2 separate regions of the Homo sapiens genome follow, and region 2 is linked to region 1. The links are contacts of gene promoters, found by promoter capture Hi-C in blood cells and fetal thymus (Javierre and others, 2016). All regions are on one chromosome and are shown on one strand. Each heading gives the region's core, a stretch centred on a gene start or on the middle of the fragment in contact. The rest is flanking DNA. Distances are from core to core; before and after follow the strand shown. Region 1 holds the start of LRRC59 (leucine rich repeat containing 59). Region 2 overlaps LUC7L3 (LUC7 like 3 pre-mRNA splicing factor).

The links. Contacts are between HindIII fragments. The CHiCAGO score rates a contact against its expected background, and 5 or more counts as called.
Region 2: a fragment that was not itself captured here is called in contact with the fragment with the promoter of LRRC59 in region 1 in 1 of 17 cell types (erythroblasts); the score reaches 6.6 in erythroblasts.

What each region holds. Positions count from the first base shown.
Region 1 is chr17:50,393,086-50,399,732 of GRCh38, forward strand. LRRC59 (leucine rich repeat containing 59) reads right to left here and starts at 4,438. Exons shown (of 7, transcript NM_018509.4): 1 at 4,128-4,438; 2 at 1,844-1,903. The coding sequence starts at 4,232. It overlaps LRRC59-AS1 (LRRC59 antisense RNA 1), which reads left to right and starts at 1,839. Exons shown (of 2, transcript NR_199069.1): 1 at 1,839-1,907; 2 at 4,131-5,472. RefSeq lists a silencer at 4,415-4,484. The HindIII fragment of the contact is 2,181 bases long and covers 3,536-5,716 here.
Region 2 is chr17:50,723,307-50,730,351 of GRCh38, forward strand. The region is part of intron 1 of LUC7L3 (LUC7 like 3 pre-mRNA splicing factor); the gene reads left to right. Among named protein-coding and RNA genes, the nearest start is that of LUC7L3, 7.2 kb to the left of the region's middle. RefSeq lists an enhancer at 1,630-2,129. The HindIII fragment of the contact is 2,482 bases long and covers 122-2,603 here.

The DNA.
Region 1 (6,647 bases), core at 3,188-5,687:
AGCCACAAGATTGGAAACTCCTCATCTAAGCCTTGGGCTCACACACTTCGGTGTAACAGTCTGGAAGCCCTCAAGTCAGAGGTACCCCATGTAAAAATCCTGGCTCTACTGTTAGCAGCCGTTCTTCCTCAAATGAAAATGCAGAGAACACCTACCACACCTGGTGATAATTACCAAGATATGTATGGAAAAGGGCTTAGCACAAAGTAGGCACAAAACACTATTCCTTCACCCTCAGTTCTTGCTCCAGCCTACCCTCCACACTGCTCCTGGAGAGGTGTGGTTACCCATTCTGTCCTTCCACAGCACCCTATGCTCACCATTCATAGGATCTGTCAAAACAGCGTGCTCGTTCATTTTCTTAAAAAGATCAGGCACTCCTGGAGTACTCAGTCTGATTCTTGTTATTTGCAGCACCTAGCACAGTACTTAACACAGGTGCTCAACAGACATTCTGTGAATAACTAACTGAACGGGCTGGGGTCCATCCTACCCAAGTCCTGGCTCTTTCTCAACACAGGTCAAAACATCCCCCTGACATTAAACCTTTGCTAAGCACCCATCTGAAAGCGATGGTACAACCTCAGCTAATGAGGCACTATTCATGCTCTCTAGGGACTTGGAAATGCCAGTGGATCTGAAATGCAGAGTGAAATGGAAGTTGTCAGTACAGACAACAGAACAAGCTCAGATCGAAAAGTGCACTTGGCTGAATGACCATCTGGCAAAGTGTACAGAAGGAGTGCGGCTGCAAGGAATTGCTAACCTGCTTTTATTTTTAATTTTTTAGAGGCGGGATCTTGCTATGTTGTCCAGGCTGCTCTCAAACTCCTGGGCTAAGTGATTCTCCCACCTCAGCCTCCTGAGTTACTGGGATTATAGGCATGAACCACAGCTCCCAACATATTCTTCTTTTATTCAACACAAAATACTTTCTGGAAGAAGTGAGATCTCGATGCTTTTTGAATGTTAGAAACAGTTTTTGATGAGCTGTGACAAGGTACTGTGGACGATGAGCAAGGCCTAGGAGAATACTGAGAGGTGAGTGGACTAATAATCCAATGAGGACATTGCCAACTTCTGAATTCGACCTCTGAGCCACAGCCAGGGCCAAATAGGAAGTCACCCTGGAGTACAGCAAGGAGTGGCACGGCTAGAGTGATGGGTGGAAGTGGCAATAGCACACTTAGGCCTGACGGTGCAGGAGCACTACTATGTCAGAGAGGCTGAGGGGCTGAATGAATCCACTGTCTACACAGGTGGAGTGGAAGGAAAACTAGCAGACGTTGTGCAAGAAAAATAAAAAGGATTTGATCATGGATTGAATGTGCTGACCACATTGAGCAAATCTCAACTAATTCAAGTCCTTTGGGAGAATAATGATAAGGTAGCCCATAAAATCACCTTCTTTCTTGCTCCCCATCAAAAGATGCACAAGGAAGCTGTTCACAGCTTTCTCCCTGGAACGCAGAGCAACTTACAAAATGGTCTCTAGCATCCTCTATGCAGTAGGGAGGTAAACTATTTTTCAGAGGAATAAAATAATGTAGAAAAAAGATGAGCCCAGTAAGTTACTCAGCACCCTGTTGAGTTTAGTTTTCTGTGGACTGACTTTACCACTGTTCTGAAGAATGAGGCCTCCATCTCAATTCCTTTCCCACTGAGACCAACCACTCCATTCCACTGTGCCTCCCCTACACACTCAGATTTAGCTATAGCCTGCCTGTAGGCCTATCCTGAAATTACACCTTATGACACCCTCCCACCCCCCTCTCAACCCCCGAAACAGGAAGGAGATGCATCCAAGGCACCAGAAGGAGTCACGGCTGCATGCCAATCTTACCGGTAGAGTAGTCAGTTTATTACAAGACAGATCCAGGATGGTGGCCTTTGGAAGGGCAGCCTAGGTAAAAGAGGATGAGAAAAACATGTCAGACCAACATCTGGAACAATTCACTGACATATGTTAATGAAGCATTTTCCAGAGAATGTTCCCATGATTAGGAAAGGCCTTTTAAAATGGCAGTAAAGAGTAATGTTCCTGGGAATAAGAGGAAAAATAAGCCAGTCAACCATGATCTAAGGAAGAATGCAAAGAGAAGGGATGTGGCTGTACAACCTCCAAGAAGGTAAACCTTAGGCGAGGCACAGGGACTCACACCTGTAGTCTCATAGTCTCAGCTACTCAGAAAGCTGAGACAGGAGGATCGCTTGAGCCCAGGAGTTCAGGAGTTTGAGGCCGGCCTGCACAACACAGTGAGACCCCATCTCAAAAAAAAAAAAAAAGAAAGGAAGGCAGGCAGGCAGGCAGGCAAGCAAAATTTAGATTCTTAGACATTATTCCTAGCACTTTAAAAATAAATATTACCCAGCGTCCCTCTTATTAGGTTTCAGGGCAGGGACAGTGTCTAATAAAGCTTTGCAATTTCCATATTCCCCAGTTCAGGCCCTTCCTCAGAACAGGTACTCAATATCCATACATGTTGCCTGAATCATGACTGATCGAGTAAGTAGCGGAGTGAATGACAGAGTGAAAAAACAAGGCCCTGCCGGGTGCGGTGGCTCACGCCTGTAATCCCACCACTTTGGGAGGCTGAGGCAGGCAATCACCTGAAGTCAGGAGTTCGAGACCAGCCTGACCAACACGGAGAAACCCTGTCTCTACTAAAAATAGAAAATTAGCCAGGCATGGTGGCACACGCTTGTAATCCCAGCTACTCGGGAGGCTGAGGCAGGAGAATCGCTTGAACCCGGGAGGCAGAGGTTTCAGTGAGCCGAGATCACTCCTGGGCAACAACAGCAAAACTCCATCATCCAAAAAAAAAAAAGGCCCTCACAGCCCATCTCTATTTTCCCATGGTGTCCAGGCTGGACAAGCTCAGCAAAACTTTCTCCCTAAGGTTAATGCTGGACTGTTCAGATGCCTGGAGTATATGGTTTCAGAGAGCAGTCCTAGGGCAGGGTGAAATAAGGCTGGCCATCTATCTTCCTGGGGTAGAAAAGGAGGCATATATTCAGTTAAGGATCCTCTGGCAACCTGCACTTTCTGTCACAAAGTCGTAAAAGTGAAGTTTGACCACCTAAAAAAGTTTTAAATACTACAGCGGGAAAAACACAACAACAGCTACAAGTATCAGTATTTGCTCCTTCCAAGCATTTTCCATTACAATGGTATTTAACCTCCCAATAAGCGTATGAGATGGAAACTATTATCACCATTGTATAGATGAGGAGATCTAGGCATAAAGGCTAACTAGCTTGCCAAGGGCACTCGGCTATTAAGCAATGGAGCTGGGAGGAGCTAGGAACCCGGTTCTAACCACTGTAATACCCGTCCACGGTGGAAGAAAGACTGGGCCCAGCGCCCAAGGCAAATGTAATTTATCAACGGCAGAAAGCAAAGTGTGGGTCACCCAAAGTGAGTCTAGTAGGGCGTTGGCGCGGGTGGGAGGGGGAACGGAGTGGGAAAAGGAGGGATGTGGGAACTAGCTCCACGCTGACAAAACTAGATGCCTGCTATCTCTCTGGAGCTGTAAGCTTCAGTTTACAGGGGAAAGGTTGGGGGAGAGAGGGGCGAAAGGGACTCCCGCCAGTTTCAGCGGAATTCAGATGACAGTTTACCAGCCAAGCTGGGGGGAGACTTTACTTTCTTCGAGTTAGGCTGCCTCAGGGCTCGGGCAGCCAGCTGGAATTGCCAGCTTCCTAGAAGAGCCAGGTTCTGGGCCACACCCAGGTCTACCAGGAGGCCTACTCCCCTGGAACAAGTCACTCATTCATTCTCGAATACATCCAGTAACTGCTCCGTGTGCTCCTACTCAGAGTCGGGCACGGAGGTGGGCGCTGTGAAAGCCCCGCAAAGGTGACAGATTCGCTTCTTAGCCTGTAAAAAGCCTAGGGCCAGAGAAGCAGATCTTCCCTATGTTCTGGAACTGCGCCAAAGTGACACGTGTACATCCCGGGAAGAACCTTGGGCTGGACGCGGCCTCCTAGGGGACTTAGTCCCACCACCCCGCTTCTTTTTAAAGAAAAGGAAACTGATGCTTTTAGAGAAGAGGAAAGTAAGTGGCCCACGTAGGGGCCAGCGCCCGGCGAAGGTGGGCGCCTGGGCCTCGCGGGACGATACTGACCAGCTCCTTCACCGGGACCTCATTCAGGTCGCTGAGGCTCAGGTCCAGTTCGTTGCCGTCCAGCTTGTCGCGGAGGTTCCCGCCCTTGCTACCGGCCTTGGTCATGGTAACGCCGGCTGAGCGGGCCCCGGCTCCGGGGTTCCGGCGGGTGAAAGGAGCTGAAATGTCGCTTGTCAGTTCAGCGGCCCCCCACCCAAACGACGACGCCTGAGCCCTCCGTCGCCGCCGATGCGAGACCGCCTCCGCCCGCTGGCCGCACTCCGAGCCTCGCGCCTAGCTCCCACCGGTGCCGCGACGACGACCACTTCCGTGTCCACGTCACCTTCCGCGACCACTGAGATGGGCTGGGCCAGAGCGGCCCGAGCGTGTGCGGGCACGCCCCCTGGTGCCCAGGGTGATGCACTGCACGTCGCCGCCGCCGGAGGGGTGGGGTTGGAGGCTGCGAGCTCGGTTCACGTTCACCCGTGGCCCGCGGGCATTATTGCTGGCAGTGCCACGAGGCGAAAGGGCACGGACTGGGCGCCAGAAGACTGGGTTGACATCCAATACTGACCTCATCAGATCACCCCAATCCCCCTGATTAGGAGCAGAAGCTGGGTGTCCTCTAAAACTGCTCCCTGTCCTCTACTTAACCCCCGAATAACCATCATGGGGAAAACTCTTCTTCCTGAATTTCTCCTCTCTCCTCCCCACTCACTGCCTCAGTGCTTGTCTCTGTCCTTCCATCCACTTTCACCCAGCTCCCCGGTGATCTTTCTAAAAATCTGGCCAAGTCTCTCCCCTACGTAAAACCCTTCAAACTTGCAGCTACCTCTAGGATACGGACCACTTTCCTTTGGAAGCTGGGTCCTGCCTGCTTTCGCAGCTTCCTCACACGCTCCAGTCCCTGCCTGGCCTAGATGCTGTGTAGATTTCCAGGAGGTGGCTCCCACGTCTGGCCCTCCCCAGCGATGGCCCTCCCTCCCCCCCACTCACCTCTGTCTAGCTAATTCCTTAGTCCTTCAGGAAATCTCCCCTGAACACCGTGAATGCCAGACTGAGTTAGCGCCCCCCCCAACCAACTTAGGTCCCTGTTTGCTACTTTATCATCAGAGACAGTAGAGCTTGATGGCCAAGTGGGACCTCTGGCACTAATACCTATCCACTGGGTATTCATCCTGGCTCTGCCACTTGCTACTTATAAAACCGTAGACAATCACCAGGCTTCAGTCTTATCTATGAATCAATCTATGAGACATGTAGCTAACAGAGGTTGGGGAGAACTGAAGGAGTAAAACACACCAAGAGCTTACAGCAGTCACTGGCACTTAGTAAGTACCCAATAAATATTAGCTACAATTCATGATCCACCTTGTATTATACTCATCTTTATGTGTCTGTCCTTCATTCTGGACTGTGAGGACAGGGATTTTTGTCTTAATCATCTTCGTATGCCCAGAGTTGGCATACCCTGATGCAGGGTAGCTACTCATTCAGATGTCTGTTGAATAAATGAATAGATGGATGGATGAATGAATGAATGAATGAAGGAAGGAAGCACTTTACCCACTCCAAACCTCAGTTTACTCATTTTGAAATAGGGATATTAAAGCTTATCTCAGAGGGGCCGAGCAGGATAGCTCACACCTGTAATCCCAATACTTGGGAGGCCAAGATGAGAGGATTATTTGAGGCTAGGAGTTCAAAACCAGTCTGGGCAACATAGCAAGACCCCATCTCTAAAAAAATAAAAAATAAAAAATCTTGTCTCAGAGGGAAACTATGAACACCAAATAAAGTAAGTGCAATTGTTACGGGGGGTGGGTGGCAGGGGTCCTTGTTCTTAGAACTCCCAAGATGGTGGCGGGCCACTTCCAAGATGGCGGCAAGCCTCTTGTTCTCTGACCTGGGTTTCTTGGCCTCACGCATTCCAAGGAATGGAATCTTGGGCCATGCAATGAGTGTTATAGCTCTATTCAGCTCAATTAGGACAAATCCAGGCACTTAGCCACGCAGGAACAATGGCAAGCCTTTAGCCTGATCCAGAGCAGCAATGGGCGCCTCACTGGATCGGGAGCCCAGCAGACACCCTGCCAGATCCAGAGGGGTGGAAGTCAGCAGCGGGTCTGCGACAGCAGCAAACAGCAGTAGTGGACGGTAAGGAAAAGCTCAGCTCAAGCCGTAACAAACACGGACCAGAAAAGTGTGCAGTTGCAAGATTTAATAGAGTGAAAACAGAGCTCCCATAAAATGGCAGGGGACCCAAAGGGGGTTGCTGTTGCCGGCTCGAATGCCTGGGTTTATATCCCGATCATTGTCCCTCCTCCTGTGCTCTCAGGCGATAGATGATTGGCTATTTCTTTACCTCCTGTTTTTGCTTAATTAGCATTTCAGTGAGCTCTCTTTACTACCTGATTGATCAGGTGCGAGCTAAGTTGCAAGCCCCATGTTTAAAGGTGGATGCGGTCACCTTCCCAGCTAGGCTTAGGGATTCTTAGTTGGCTTAGGAAATCCAGCTAGTCCTGTCTCTCAGTGCCCCCC
Region 2 (7,045 bases), core at 113-2,612, 330 kb after region 1:
AACATGAAGGTTTAATAATTTATGAAGGAAATTGAACTATGTTCTTTTCTAAAATCTTTGGAATGTTAGCAGATACTGTCATTGACACTGAAAAGTTGTTTAGAAAAGGAAAAATAGCTAAAGCTTCTGTCCACATTTTTTACTTGTATACTTTTTCTTTTTGCTTTAAAAATGTTCAGAATTTGGGAGCAAAAATTGAAAGCAAAAAACTAGTAATTATAATGCATGATGGCATCTATTAATATGTATTTTACTAGTTTTCATTCAGAGTCACCAAAATGTTCATAGTAACTTACTATGTTACTATGGAGTAAGATAGAAAAGCATTTTCTACCCTGCTCCCTGCCCCCCCCCCTTTTTTTTTTTGAGACAGAGTCTAGCTCTGTCACCCAGGCTGGAGTGTAGTGGCATGATCTTGGCTCACTGCAACCTCCACCTCCTGGCCTCAGCGTCCCGAGTAATTGGGATTGCAGGTGTGGGCCACCACGCCCGGCTAATTTTTGTATTTTTAGTCGACAGGGTTTTGCCATATTGGCCAGGCTGGTCTTGAACTCCTGACCTCAAGTGATCGGTCCGCCTCAGTCTCCCAAAGTGCTGAGGTTACAGGCGTGAGCCACTGCGCCCGGCTGGCATTTCCTACCTTACTCCATAGTAAAATAGTAAGTGTTGGCTTCTCAGAATTGCCAGCAGTCCATGTGTTATATGTGTATGTAATTGCTATTTGCTTTTCTTCCCAAAACATACAGAATTAGAGTGAATAGTATAATAAATTGAACTCCCCATGTACCCATGCCCAATTTAGCAATATTAGCACATAGTCAATATTATTTCCTCTGTATCCCTTCCATTATTTTGAAGCAATTCTGTTATTGTCAACCTTAAAGCGGTCATTGTATATCTGTAAAATACAAGGACTTTAAAAAAAAAACATAGCCGACCGGGCATGGTGGGTCACCTGTAATCTCAACATTGGGAGGCCAAGGCAGGCAGATCACTTGAGGCCAGGAGTTCGAGACCAGCCTGGCCAACATGGTGAAACCCTGTCTCTAATAAAAAATAAAAAAATTAGCTGGGCGTAGTGGTGCATTCCTGTAATCCCAGCTACTCTGGAGGTTGAGGCAGGAGGATCCTTTCAACCCAGGAGGCAGAGGTTGCAGTGAGCCGAGATGGTGCCACCACAGTCCAGCCTGGGCAACAGAGTGACACTCTGTCTCAAAAAAAAAATAGAATAAAATAACCACAATACCATAATCACTGAAAATTATAGTAAGGTATTTCGTAAATCTTTGGTTGCTTTAGGAAAATTGTGTGTGTGTGTGTGTGTGTGTGTGTGTGTGTGTCATTATATATGTTATTAGCCTTGATTTCCTCACAAAAGGAGAAGGTAGCTTAAGTTTGTAAATTTGACTTTTTTGCTAATACAGTTCTTCGTTTTATGAAATATTTTCTCTTTTTTTTTTTTTTTTTACCCCCGAGATGGAGTCTTGCTCTGTTGCCCAGGTTGGAGTGCAGTGGTGTGATCTCAGCTCACTGCAACCTCCACCTCCCGGGTTCAAGCGATTCTCCTGCCTCAGCCTCCAGAGTAGGTGGAATTACAGGTGCATGCCACCATGCCTGACTAATTTTTGTGTTGTTGTAGAGATGGGGTTTCACCATGTTTGCCGGGCTGGTCTTGAACTTTTGACAACAAGTGATCCTCCCTCGGCCTCCCAAAGTGCTGGGATTACAGGGGTGAGCCACCATGCCCAGCCTTTCTCTTCATTTCTTATAGTAAGTTAGGAAAATTGTTGTATTCATTTATCCAACAAAAATGTATTGCTCGGCTGGGAGCGGTGGCTCACGCCTGTAATCCTAGCACTTTGCGAGGCTGAGGCGGGTGGATCACCTGAGCTCAGGAGTTTGAGACCAGCCTGGCCAACATGGCGAAACCCTGTCTCTACTAAAAATACAAAAATTAGCCAGGTGTGGTGGCGCACGCCTGTAATCCCAGCTACTCGGGAGGCTGAGGAAGGAGAATCGCTTGAACCCGGGAGGTGGAGGTTGCAGTGAGCCGAGATCACGCCACTGCATTCCAGCCTGCGTGACAGGAGCAAGACTCCATTTCAAAAAAAAAATTAAAAGTATTGCTCTTAGGTAGATAACAGCAGGATAGTACAGATACAGCACTTGGTCCTAAAGAGCCATCATGTATTGGTGACAGTAAATGCACTTTTTTTTTCCAATGGGGATTATTCCAATTGAATGTAAACGCATTTCCATAACAGAATATGATAAATCCTACCATTGGGAAAAGTAAAATTGACCCTTGAACAACACGGGTTTGAGTTGAGTGTGTCCATTTATACGTGGAGTTTTTTCAATAAATATATTGGAACATTTTTTGGAGATTTGCAACAATTTGAAAAAACTTGAAGACGAATCACATAGCTTAGAAATATTTTTAAAATTTAAGAAAAGATAAGTACATCACAAATACATAAAATAGATGTATATACTAGTTTATCATTTTCCTACCACAAAATACATACGAATCATAAAAAGTTAAACTTTATAAAAACTTATGCACACAGTACATGGTGCCACTAGCAGTCCAGAGAAAGTAAAGCTTGAGTAATAACTGCATAAAATTAACTATAGTACATACTGTAATACTGTAATAATTTTGTAGCCACCTGTTGCTATTACAGTGAGCTCAAGTGTTGCCAGGCTCCACTTAAAATGCCCTATGACCTGTGACTCTTGATAATCTCTGCATGAGCAGTTGGTGTCTAAAGTAAATTGCATATCACAGTAAAAAATTATCCCTTGGTTCTTGTGTATTTTCATCATTGTTTATTGCAATACCGTATAAACTTGTTGTTTTGCTTTTTGTTGTTGTTGTTTTTGAGACAGTCTTGCTCTGTCGCCCAGGCTGGAGTGCAGTGGTGCCATCTCGGCTCACTGCAACCTCTGCTTCCCAGGTTCAAGCAGTTCTCATACCTCAGCCTCCCAGGTAGCTGGGATTACAGCCGTGTACCACCATGTCTGGCTAAGTTTTGTATTTTTAGTAGAGATGGGGTTTTGTCATGTTGGCCAGGCTGGGCTCGAACTCCTGGCCTTAAGTGATCCGCCCACCTTGGCCTCCCAAAGTGCTGGGATTAGAGGTGTAAGCCACAGCGCCTGGCCTATGTACAATACCATGACCTTTGAATAACGCCCTGAGACCCATACGAAGTGCAGCTAGTGACATTGGAAGTGCTCCGAAGAAGCAGAAAAGTCATGACAGTACAAGAAGTTAAATTGCTTGATATGTACGATAGACTGAGATCTGCACCTGGGGTTGCTGGCATTTGAGACAATTCATCTTTTGTATACAGATGACCTAAACTTAGGGTATTGATAAATACAGCACTGTAAATGTGTTTTCACATTTTTTTCTCTAGCTTACTTATAGTTATTTTTTTCCCTAAACATTCTACAGTGCACATCTCTAGCTTACTTTATTGTAAGAATACAGTATATAGCCAGGCACGGTGGCTTACGTCTTTAATCCCAGCACTTTGGGAGGCCGAGGTGGGCGGTCACTTGAGGTCAGGAGTTGGAGACCAGCCTGGCTAACATGGTGAAACCCTGTCTCTACTAAAAATACAAAAATTAGCCAGGCGTTGTGGCCGGTGCTTGTAATCCCAGCTACTCAGGAGGCTGAGGCAGGAGAATTTCTTGAACCCGGGAGGCGGAGGTTGCAGTGAGCCGAGATCATGCCACCGCACTCCAGCCTGGCTGACAGAGCGAGACTTTGTCTCAAAAAAAAAAGAATACAGTATATAATACAAATAATATACAAAATACGTGTTAACCAACTGTTAGTGTTATTGTAAGGCTTCCAGTCAGTGGTAGGCTTTTGATAGTTAGGTTTTAGGGGAGTTAGGGTCAGTAACTCTCTTAGTTGTTATAAAGGAATACCTGAGGTTGGATAATTATAAAGAAAAGAGGTTTATTTAGTTCAGTTCCCCAGACTGTACAAGAAGCATTGTAGCTGGTACCTATCTGGTGAGGGTCCCAGACTGCTTCCACTCATGGCAGAAGGGGAGCTAGCATGCGCAAAGATCACATGGCTAGAGTGCCAGGCTCTGTTCAACAACCAATTTTCCAGTCAACTAAGAATGGGAATTCACTCCCACAAGAATGTTTTTTTTGGGACCAAAGAAACCACATCCAAACCATAGCAGTGCCCCAGCCCCCCGAGTTCAAAGGTCAGCTGTATAGTGTACACAGGAAAGGAGTGCATAACCCAGATTGGGATGGATACTCAGGAAAGGCCTGTCAGACAAAGTGGTCTTTAAATACATTTACCTAAAGGATTGGCAGGAATTAGCCTGAGGGAGAGGAGAGAGAAGACACCTTACCAGCCTGAAGGAAGAGCTGGAGAAAAATCGGTGAATTTGGCAAATTTTAAATAGTATTGTAGTGTGTATGTTTTTGTTGGGTGGGGTAGTGTAGATAGGTAGGCAAGAACTTGGTTTTAAATAGTTTTTATAGGCCGGGCGTGGTGGCTCACGCCAGTAATCCCAATACTTTGGAAGGCAGAGATGGTGGATCACGAGGTCAGGAGATCGAGACCATCCTGGCTAACATGGTGAAACCCCATCTCTACTAAAAATACAAAAAAAAAAAAAAATTAGCTGGGCGTGGTGTGGTGGCAGGCGCCTGTAGCCCCAGCTACTCGAGAGGCTGAGACGGGAGAATGGCGTGAACCCGGGAGGCGGAGCTTGCAGTGAGCCGAGATCGCGCCACTGCACTCCAGCATGGGCGACAGAGCGAGATCTGTCTCAAAAAAAAAAAAAAAAAAGTTTTTATAAGCCTTGTTGAAAGTTTAGATTTTATTACATTGGGAAATAACTGAAGGCTTCTAAGCAGAAGAGAGATGTTTACTAACTGGCTGCTGTGGAAGATTGATTGAAATTTTACTAGAAGTTTGTGTAGGCAATAAATAGTGAATCATACCTGCAAAGGTATACGTAATAAAATTAAAGGCATGGAAATGAATGTGTGGTCGTGGTATAACTGAAACATAAAGCTATATGTTATCAGGGACATAATTTTTGTTATAAATTCTTTTATTAAAAATTATTTCTTTGGGGGTTTATCTTTAACACAGTGAATTGAACTCTTAGGTAAAAAAAAATATTTATAGACTGTCATAATCAGAATTAAACTATTAATATTGAGGCAGAAGTGACAAAAGACTACAGCGTGTAGGGTTGGTTTTTGTTTTTGTTTTTTTGGAGACAGAGTCTTGATCTGTTGTCTAGGCCGGAGTGCAGTGGCGCGATCTCAGCTCACTGCAAACCTCCGCTTCCCAGGTTCAAGCGATGCTCGTGCCTCAGTCTCCCGAGTAGCTGGAACTACAGGCGTGTGCCTCCATGCTTGGCTAATTTTTGTATTTTTAGTAGAGACGGCGTTTCGCCATTTTGGCCAGGCAGGTCTCAAACTCCTGGCTTCAAGTGATCTGCCTGCCTCGGCCTCCCAAAGTGCTAGGATTGCAGGTGTGAGCCACTGCAGCTGGCTTGTGTTCCTTTTTTTTAACCAATAAAATTTCCAGGTATTCCTGGATTTTAAATTAATATTTGTATGTGTATGGCATTTGAGGTATTCCAGTAATATGTCCTGTTTCAGAATACAGTAAGTCTGCATTTAACGTCGTTAATGGGTTCTTGGAAACTATGACTTCAGTTGAAATGACATATAACAAAAGTTTTACCATAGACTAGTTAATATAAAGAAGAGTTAGGTTTCTGTGGCACATTCTGGTTACAGAAACATAACTAAAAAGACCCAAAACATTTCTGATATCAAACATTGAGATAAATTTGAGGTATACATACATTTAAGAAAGATGAATAAAAGCGAGGTAATTACCCAGTTTTTGGTGAATCAGTGAGTGATGGCAATTTTAGTGGTGGTGAGTTAAGTCAAGGAATAAATGTTTACAACTTGAACATTGTCAGAAGCACCTCCTACCTCCATTCAGTTCCAACACAATAATAAAGATGGTAAACTCACCACTTTTGGACTATGCTGTTTATTTTCATGCATTTGTATGATTATCATATGCTTTACAGACTTTTATTTTACAATAATTTCATTGTAATATACAATATATTCATTCCTTTCCAGCCTCCTTATTCCAGTTCAGGGTGGTGGGTGGCCAGAGCTGATCCCGGCTGCCCAGGATGCAAGGCAGGAACTAACCCTGGACAAGATCCCCTCCCATCACAGGGCATACTCACACACCCACACTCACCCAGACTGGGACTTAGGCATGCCAGTTCACCTACCGTGCACAGCTTTGGGATGTGGAAGGAAACCAGAGTACTGGGAGAAAACCCATACAGACATGGGGAGAACTTGCAGACTCCTACACAGTTAGCCCCAGCTGGGAATAATTTTTTTTCCCCTCATCACATTATTCAAGGACTTACTGTATATAGTAATTAGGATTGGCTATTTAGATTTTTAAAATTTAAGTCCCTGTCAGTTTTACTGTTTCCAACATGAGTTGTGTTGCCAGTGTTTAGATAATCAGAAGTATATATTGAATATAAATACATTATATATATATATATATATATATATATATATATATATATATATATATATGTATGTATTTTGGGGGTGGGGAGGTGGGGACAGTGTCTGGCTCTGTTACCCAGGCTGGAGTGCAGTGGCACAATCTCAGCTCACTGCAGCTTCCACCTCCTGGGCTCTAGCAGTCCTCCCACTGCTTGAGCAGGCTCCTCCCATTCCAGCCTCCTGAGTAGCTGGGACTATAGGCCCGCACCACCCCTGGCTAATTTTTTTGTATTGGTGGAGATGGGGTCTTGCCACGTTGCCCGGGCTGGTCTCGAACTCCTGAGCTTAAGCCATCTGCCTGCCTCAGCCTCCCAAAGTGCTGAGATTACAGGCGTGAGCCACCACTTCCAGTCTATTATCTTTATGATAAGCAGTTTAACGAAAATAGTGCAGACAGGCCAGGAGTTCGAGATCAACCATGGTAAAACCCCAT